2 separate regions of the Homo sapiens genome follow, and region 1 is linked to region 2. The links are contacts of gene promoters, found by promoter capture Hi-C in blood cells and fetal thymus (Javierre and others, 2016). All regions are on one chromosome and are shown on one strand. The core of a region is centred on a gene start or on the middle of the fragment in contact, and the rest is flanking DNA. Distances in the headings are between cores, read along the strand shown. Region 1 overlaps ZFP1 (ZFP1 zinc finger protein). Region 2 holds the start of ZNRF1 (zinc and ring finger 1).

What was found. The method cuts DNA at HindIII sites, captures the fragments that hold promoters and counts their contacts. A CHiCAGO score of 5 or more calls a contact.
Region 1: a fragment that was not itself captured here is called in contact with the fragment with the promoter of ZNRF1 in region 2 in 3 of 17 cell types (fetal thymus, M1 macrophages and M0 macrophages); the score reaches 8.9 in fetal thymus.

Annotation. Positions count from the first base shown.
Region 1 is chr16:75,167,811-75,171,837 of GRCh38, reverse strand. It overlaps ZFP1 (ZFP1 zinc finger protein), which reads right to left. Exons shown (of 4, transcript NM_153688.4): 4 at 1-2,585. The coding sequence ends at 1,504. Among named protein-coding and RNA genes, the nearest start is that of ZFP1, 21 kb to the right of the region's middle. The HindIII fragment of the contact is 1,090 bases long and covers 1,988-3,077 here.
Region 2 is chr16:74,997,774-75,001,732 of GRCh38, reverse strand. ZNRF1 (zinc and ring finger 1) reads right to left here and starts at 2,709. Exons shown (of 5, transcript NM_032268.5): 1 at 1,638-2,709. The coding sequence starts at 2,061. RefSeq lists an enhancer at 838-897 and silencers at 1,688-1,997, 2,398-2,917. The HindIII fragment of the contact is 6,289 bases long and covers 1-3,959 here.

The DNA of each region.
Region 1 (4,027 bases), core at 1,283-3,782, 170 kb before region 2:
ACGTTTTCCCCTCCTTTGTGAGTAAGTAAGATGACAACTTAGACAAAAGCTTATTGGGCTATGGATGTTCTGGATAAATTTGTTCAGAAAGTCACTCAATATATAGTGTGACAGCACATCAATGATATCCAAAAATATTTTTTAAAAGCCAGTTTTTGGTTGCCATTTATAATTTCCAATACATGATTTGTGATTGATAGGGAAAGGCTGAACTTAAGAATTTGAAATCAAGTCTATAAAAGCAAATCTTTGAGTTACACAACAATTCTTGTTAATATCTGGAGAGACCACTGAAAAATCTGATTTTTATAAAAGTGTAAACATGTAAAGGAAAAGTAATAACTTATAACTCATGTTCCAAAGGGAAATGTTTTAGGTTGGCAACAGCAAAACTCAAGGAAGTAGAAATGCCTCCTTTAAACAACAAAATAGTGTAAAAATTTACTTCTAAAGGGGGTTATGCACGTGAAAAATTTAAAAAGCAATGAAACAGTTGACAGTTATTTAAAATAATTTTTCCTCTAAAGTCTCTGAAATGTAACATTTGTGAACTACAGAAGCATCCTACCATTTTTGCTAGACAATTCATGAAATATTAAGGGAAACAAGGAAAGACAAAAACAGGTGGTTTCTGTCTGTGTTACACAATATTTTGGTAACAGACATGCATTTGTATGCAAATATCCCACGGGAAAATAAGAGCATGACGAATGGGGATATTGTCTTTACACGGCAAACTCTTATTCTGTGGTGCATACTGAGTAGTACAGCTCATGTCTGCCTCCTTCACGTTATAGATCGGTTATTTCACATTTGCATATTTGTGTAAATAGTGCTTCTAGAAAATCTTCAGCAAACCAGAAGCAGGGAAAACTTCAACACTGTCTTCTGTTTCCTAAGAGGCAGCTCAAGAACAATGTTCATACCAACTGATATATGCCAGCAAGCAGTAGGGAAAGACGTAGGTTCCATGCTACTTTAAATGTTACACATTTCATTTGGAATGCATACTGGATTGCAGAGATACTGAAAAACACATGTGATGTTTAGTATGGAAAATCTTGTTATGTCCTAATTATCACAGAGGACAAGAATTTCAAATTCCCAGTGATTATGCTAAATTCACATGTGCAGATCTAAAGCATACCACTTGTGTTTTGTGGCATATCCACATAAAACCACTAAATTCATAGGATACTGTTTGTATATTTCTTATGCTGCTGTCTAGAATACTCAATTCATTCAAGATTTTAAAAAGCTCATTGTAGTACAACTGGGTATGGCTATTTACAACTGGATATATTCTGATATGTATTCTTTAGCTGGGTATCACATGTAACTTCCAGTATAATGTTCTCATGGGATCCTATTTTTAATACATTTTTGAGTTGAGAGATTGCATCTCAGTATGAATTCCCATGTTCCCTCAATACTGTCATGAGGTTTTTCACCCGCTTGAAGAGTTCTGGCAGGAGTTTTCCACAGTAAGACCTGGCTGGAGTTTCAGGGTTTCTCCCCGATGTGAACTCTCTGATGGACACTGAGTCGGGACTTCCTGCTAAAGGCCTTCCCACATTCGGAACACTCATATGGTTTCTCTCCTGTGTGGATTCGCAAGTGTAATCTAAGAGTTGACCTCTGGCTGAAAGTTTTGCCGCACTCAGTACATTCATAGGGTTTCTCTCCTGTATGAGTTCTCATGTGTATGATGAGCTGTGAGTTCTGGATAAAGGATTTTCCACATTCACTGCACTCATAGCGTTTCTCCCCCGTGTGAATCTTCTGATGTATGATAAGGTTTGACTTCTTAAAGAAGGTTTTTGCACATTCGTTACACTCATAGGGTCGCTCTCCTGTATGAATTCTCTGGTGTGTGGTGAGTTCAAACTTTTGGGCAAATGTCTTTCCACATTCACTGCACTCATAGGGCTTCTTCTCCATATGTGCTCTCTGGTGTACAATGAGGTTTGACTGGTGGGTGAAAGCTTTTCCACATTCCGGACACTCGAAAGGTTTCTCCCCAGTGTGAATTCTCTGATGTTTGATGAGGTTGGCCTTATGGGAGAAGGTTTTCTTACATACATTGCATTCATATGGCTTTTCTCCAGTATGTATTCTCTTATGACTAATGAGGAGTGACTTAAAGGAGAAAGCCTTGTCACAGTAAGTACAAATGAAAGGTTGAACCAAGTTTTTTATTTTCTGATGTTTAAAAATGGCTGCTTTATGGCTGAGGGCTTTTCCACTTTTATTGTATTCAGAATATTCTACTCCACTGTGGGTTTTCTCTTGCTTCAGGTAGAGAAGTGCTTTTCCAAATTCATTACACTCATCAGTCTGCTTTCCTGCATAGCTTCTATTACTATTAAGCAAGTCTGAATTATATTTCAAAGTTTTTTCATATAAGTCATATTTATAAGGTACTTGTCTTAAAGAAACAAAGTCTGTGTTCAGATTAAGTGCTTTTCCAAAGAGATCGCCTCTTTCCTCAATTGGGGTTTGGTTCTTAAGAATTAAAAATTGCCTCGCCTGCTCGTCTGGGTTTCTGTGGTCTCTCTCCATCTGGTCATCAGCCTTCCACACTTCTAGGAATAGAGAGCACAATGAAAAGAACCTTGTCAATGCCTCCGCTATAATGTTACCGAATGGGAAGTCTTCACACGTGTTCTATCACAGGGCTGACTCTTTAGTTTGGGACCCAGTCTCCCAATATTAAAAAATTCCCAGTGCAAATGTTTCCTTTCAAACTTTGAAAGAGAAAGGTAATAGCTTGTGGTTAAAAAAACAAAACAAAACCAAAATCAATACAAGTAGCATTGCCAGATCACAAAATGACCTTAAAGTGGGCAGAGAGGGTGAAAGGAGACAGAAAACAGAACACAATATGAGAAGGCTGGCAATGCCAGGGAGGGAGATTCACAGTGTTCTTAAGGACACTGCAGTTAGCACAGAGACCGAGAAAGTAAGCAGATGAGGGAATTAAGGGGAAACACCTAAGCAGATCTCGACTAATAGTATTATTTGCTAAACTCGGACTACTATGGTAGAACCAGCACCAGTCTGCATAGTTCTAAGCTTTTTCTCCTTTTTTTCTACTGTTCATCTTTACCAAAATGATTTCCAGAGAACAGCACTTCTCATAGGTTTGCAGTGACAACCAGATAGCAGAGCTCCAAATCTCTTAAGTGAGAATCTTGCAAATGGTAAAATCCAGAAACTCATTCGCTAAGAGATACACAACCCTTACCACAGGATCACTAACTGCTGCTGGTTTTATTGCTTTTTTTTTTCTACTGAAGTTGCTGGGAGAGTGAACATGTTTTCACTATCATATCCTACTTTTCTTCCATTCCTATTTAGAGATAGGGTCTCCCTCATTTGCCCAGGCTGGAGTGCAGTGGCACAATCATAGCTCACTGCAGCCTTGACCTCCTGGGCTCAAGGGATACTCTCAATATTCCAGGCATGAGCCACCATGCCCAGCCTACTTCTTTCAATGTGTTCAGCATCTTAAGGATAAAGTTACCCAGGTTCATTAAGTCAAACAACAGATACTGGCAAGGCTAAGATACACTGTTGGTGGGAATTTAAATTAGTTCAGCCACTGTGGAGAACAGTCTGAAGATTTCTCAAATAATTCAGAACTACCCTTTCACATAGCAATCCCATTAAAAATCATCTGGCCAGGCACACTGGCTCATGCCTGTAATCCCAGCACTTTGGGAGGCCAAGGCAGGAGGATCACTTGAAGTCAGGAGGTCTTATTTTTGTTTTTTTGAGATGGGGTCGGTCTCTGTTGCCCAGGCTGGAGTATAATGGTGTGATCTCAGCTCACTGCAACCTCCGTCTCCCGAGTAGCTGGGATTACAGGCACATGCCACCATGCCCGGCTTATTTTGTATTTTTAGTAGAGAGGGGTTTTCACCATGTTGTTGGTGCTGGTATTGAACTGACCTCAGGTGATCTGCCCGCCTCAGCCTCCCAAAATGCTAGGATTATAAGCATGAGCCATGGCGCCTGGCCTGGG
Region 2 (3,959 bases), core at 1,460-3,959:
TACATATCTCATATGTTTTTCAACACAAAAAATTCTGTGATTTTAGAGAAACTTCTTACAGTACTTTTAAGTTCAAAACCAGATGCTCATTACAGTTCTTTTAAACACCAAACTAGTCATCTCAAAAATATGGCTAACTCTCTGGACTAAATTCCATAGGAAAAATTATTAATTTCAAAATGCCTAATTTTGATCAAATGCCTGAAAGAGCCAAAGGCAATCATGTCCTGCTTCTCACTCAGGGCAGAGTTCCATGAGGTCAGAAAAGCTCCAATGATATCCGGAGGTCTGTCAGAGATTAAAATATCATCCTAACAATTCACAAGCTACTTCTAAGTGTTACCCTAAATTAGTCACTAATCGTTTCTCCCCCAACACTATTTCACAAATTAAAGTTTACAGAATTGACAAAAAACCAAACCAAATGAAAACAAACCCCAGGCTATTTGCAGGGGGGGGGAAAGAGATACCCCAAAAGTCAACCCTATTTCACAGTAGTTAAAAGAGTGATCCAACAGATATTACCCTCCATAAAGTACCCTAAAGGCAGGAGCAATCTTTCCCCTACACTATCTAAATTTTCCCAACTCACCCAAAAGAATCTTAAGATGTAACTTCATCACTCAACTTGCCAATTAGCAAATAGCGGCCCCCACATCCCTTTTGGCCAATTTTCTAGATGCCTGACCTAGCAGACAGACCTGTTTTCCTCCTGCCAGGCCTTTTTTGCCCTCCCGCTAGGAGCCTGGGAAATCCCCCTCCAACCTTTTGCTGGCCTGTCACCAGAAGTTCATAAAATGAATTCATCCAGATTCTCTGAATCCTCCTTTTCCCCAGTCATGTGCCAACAGCCAGGCAATAATGCCCCACCGTGACAGGCTCCCTGTTACAAAAAGATGCAGATTCACGGGAAGACCAAGCACTTAGCATGGAGCAGAAGAAAAAAAGATGGAGGGAGGCGAGAGTCGCGGAGCCAAGCCTGCTGCATGCAGTACGGGTGACCACAGCCCGGGTCCTGCAAAGCCCCCGCGAGACTCGCCGGCTGGGCCCTCCGTACAGCAGCCACACCTGTCTATGCCAGCCGCCTGCCGGCTGCTCCATTTTAAACATTTCAAACAGATCTCCAGCAGGGTGGCAAAACTGGGCACCTCTCTCTCCCAGCAAGAGTGAGAGCCCTAATCCAGGCATCACTTGCCCCTGATTTTATTTCATTTTCACACACTCTGTTTAGGAGACACTGCTTGCTCCAACTGGCTCCATCTCTCCGTTACCGGTGAGGCAGGCACAGTGCTGCAGTGGCAGAATGGAAGTACCCAGGCTGACTTGCTCTCAGCCAGACACGACCTCTTCTCTGAGGAGGGTGATGCCAATAAATGGAACTCCAATAGGTAGGCTTCGCTCTGCCCTTCCACAAGTGAACACACGCCGTGAGTCCCTAAATCGCCAGGCTCCGCAGCCTCGCAGAAAGCCTAGTTTCCAGACGGTAGGTATCCCATTTATCCCTTGGCATCGGGAACCAAAGGGAATGCAGACAGATCCCGGTCGTGCACTACATTCCCAAACCTTGGCACGCACGCGAAGGCTTGGGGCGCCCCGGCGCGCCCTCCCTCCGAGGCCTCCACCACCCGCGGACTCACCACTATGCGAGCTGAACCACCTGGGTGCGATGTGCAGAGGTAGAGCATCCGCCAGCGAGGCTCGGGAGCCCAGGTACAGCATCCCGTCTCTATGGTGACCGCCGCCCGTCTCCTGGTAACCATTGCCATGGGCATAGGTGGAGTCGGACGCAGACCCTCCGCCGCCGGGCGCCCTCTCGGAGTCGCCGGTGCCCCGGGAGGCGGGGGTGTAGAGGCCAAAGGGCACCCCCCCGGCCGTGCTGGGGTCCATGCCCATGCCTGCCACCGAGCTGACCGAGCGGCTGCGCAGCCCCATGGCCCCGCCGCCCGTCCGGTAGTGCCCGAAATGGGGCGCCCCTCCCGGCGGCGGCACGGCGCTGTCATCGGTGGAGACCCCCGGGAAGGGGCCCCGGGAGCGGGCCGCCGTGCTCTGCTTGCCCCCCATGCTCGCCCGGGCCCCGGTGGGGCGGGAACCTGGAGGCCGAGACCCTCCCCCACTTCTCAGCAGCAGGGGGAGGGCTGGGCGAGCATAAAGGGGGAGGGAGTCAAAAAGGAGACCCGGAGGGAGAAAAGGAAAAAAAGCAAAAGGAAAAAAGGAAAAAACCCGCGGGGCGGAAGAGGCAGGCGGGCGGGCGGGGATCCCAAACTCAGAATTTCAAACGATCCAAGGCAAACGCATGTTTCCCCTCAAGGTCCAAAGAGGCGCAGTCCGGCGCGGGCTCCGCGCGCCACAGGCCGCCCCCGGGCTCCGAAAGCCGGGGGAGCCGCAGGGAAGGAGGGAGGGAGGCGGCGGCGAGCGGCGGGCGGGCGCGGGGAGGCGCCGGAGGAGGCCGCCCGCCCCGCGGGAGGAGGCGGAGGAGGGCCGGGGGCGCCGGGCGCGTCCCCCGCCTCAGGACGCCGCGACCATGGACGGCGGCCCGGACCCCTCCAGGCCTCGGGCGGGCCGCGGCGCTGGGCGGCCAGGCGCAGCTCGGGAAGCCGCGGTCGCGTCGCGTCGCGCTCTCGCTTCAGCCGCCGCCGGCCCCGCCAGCCGCGCCGCCCCGCTCGGTCCCGGGCTGCGCTCGCCGGCGCTCCTCGCCGCCGTGGAGACAATGGAGGGCGGCAGAGCGCAGGCGCGGCCCGCGCCCCCTCCCCCTCCCCCCGCCGGGTTAACCCTTTCGCGGTCCCTGCGGCGCCTGGGCCGCTGACGCCCCAGCAGTCCCCACCCACCGCCCGCCCCCGGCCGGCCTGTGACCTGGGCGGCCTGACCACTGGGCGTTAGCCACAGAAACCAGATGTCTTTCAAAAGCAAACACTTCTTAAGTCCCCGAAAGTGGCAAATTATTCAGGGGGAACCAAGTATGGGGGAGGGGCAGCAATGGTTCGAGGGGGTGGGAAGGAAACACCGGGAAGAAGGAGATTTACTCCTTACGCCTACCTGGCTCTGAGGGTCACCGGTCGAGCTCCCCTCCTGGCACAAATTTGCCCCCACAGCACCCTCTGGTGGACGTGATGTCCATTCTTTCGGGGGTTCCCCATCCAAGCACCCCTCACGTCCGGAATCTCAACATTTGGCGGGGTTTAGTTATTTGGGGGTAAACAGCGCCATGGGGACACTTGTGAATCCGGCGTTTTGCTGACACTAGATCATAACTTCCTATTTTGGGCTTAAGCAAATGAGTAGATTCCTTAGCTAAAATGTAATTTTCAGAATCAATAGATGTACCATAAAAAGTGAATAGATATGGGTATGGAAATAGAACAACGCAGCTAGAAGTGATTATAGAAACCTTCTGTCCAAGGCTGGAGCCCTGTTTTGTTTACCATGTGCTGTGTTTCGGCCCTCACCACGGGCCAAGGACACGGTGGGTACTCAATAGGTGTATTGTTGACCAAGCCTGAATCATTTGCAAGGGAGTGTTCCTTTGCTACCTCAAGCCGTCTTTCTCCTATATTCACATTCATTTATTGAACAACTGTTTTTTTTGTTTTGTTTTGTTTTTGTTTTTGAGACGTAATCTCGCCCTGTCACCCAGGCTGGAGTGGTGTGGCGTAACCTCGGCTCACCGCAACCTCCGCCTCCCGGATTCAAGTGATTCTCCTGCCTCAGCCTCCCGAGTAGCTGGGATTACAGGCACATGCCACACTGCACCTGGCTAATTTTTTGTATTTTTAGTAGAGGCGGGGTTTCACCGTATTGGCCAGGCTGGTCTTGAACTCCTGACCTCAGGTAATCCACCTGCCTTGGCCTCCCAAAGTGTTAGGATTACAGGCATGAGCCACCGCGCCCGCCCTGTTTTTCTTTTTCTTTTTTTTCTTTTCTTTTTTTTTTTTTTTGAGACGGAGCCTTGCTCCTCCCAGGCT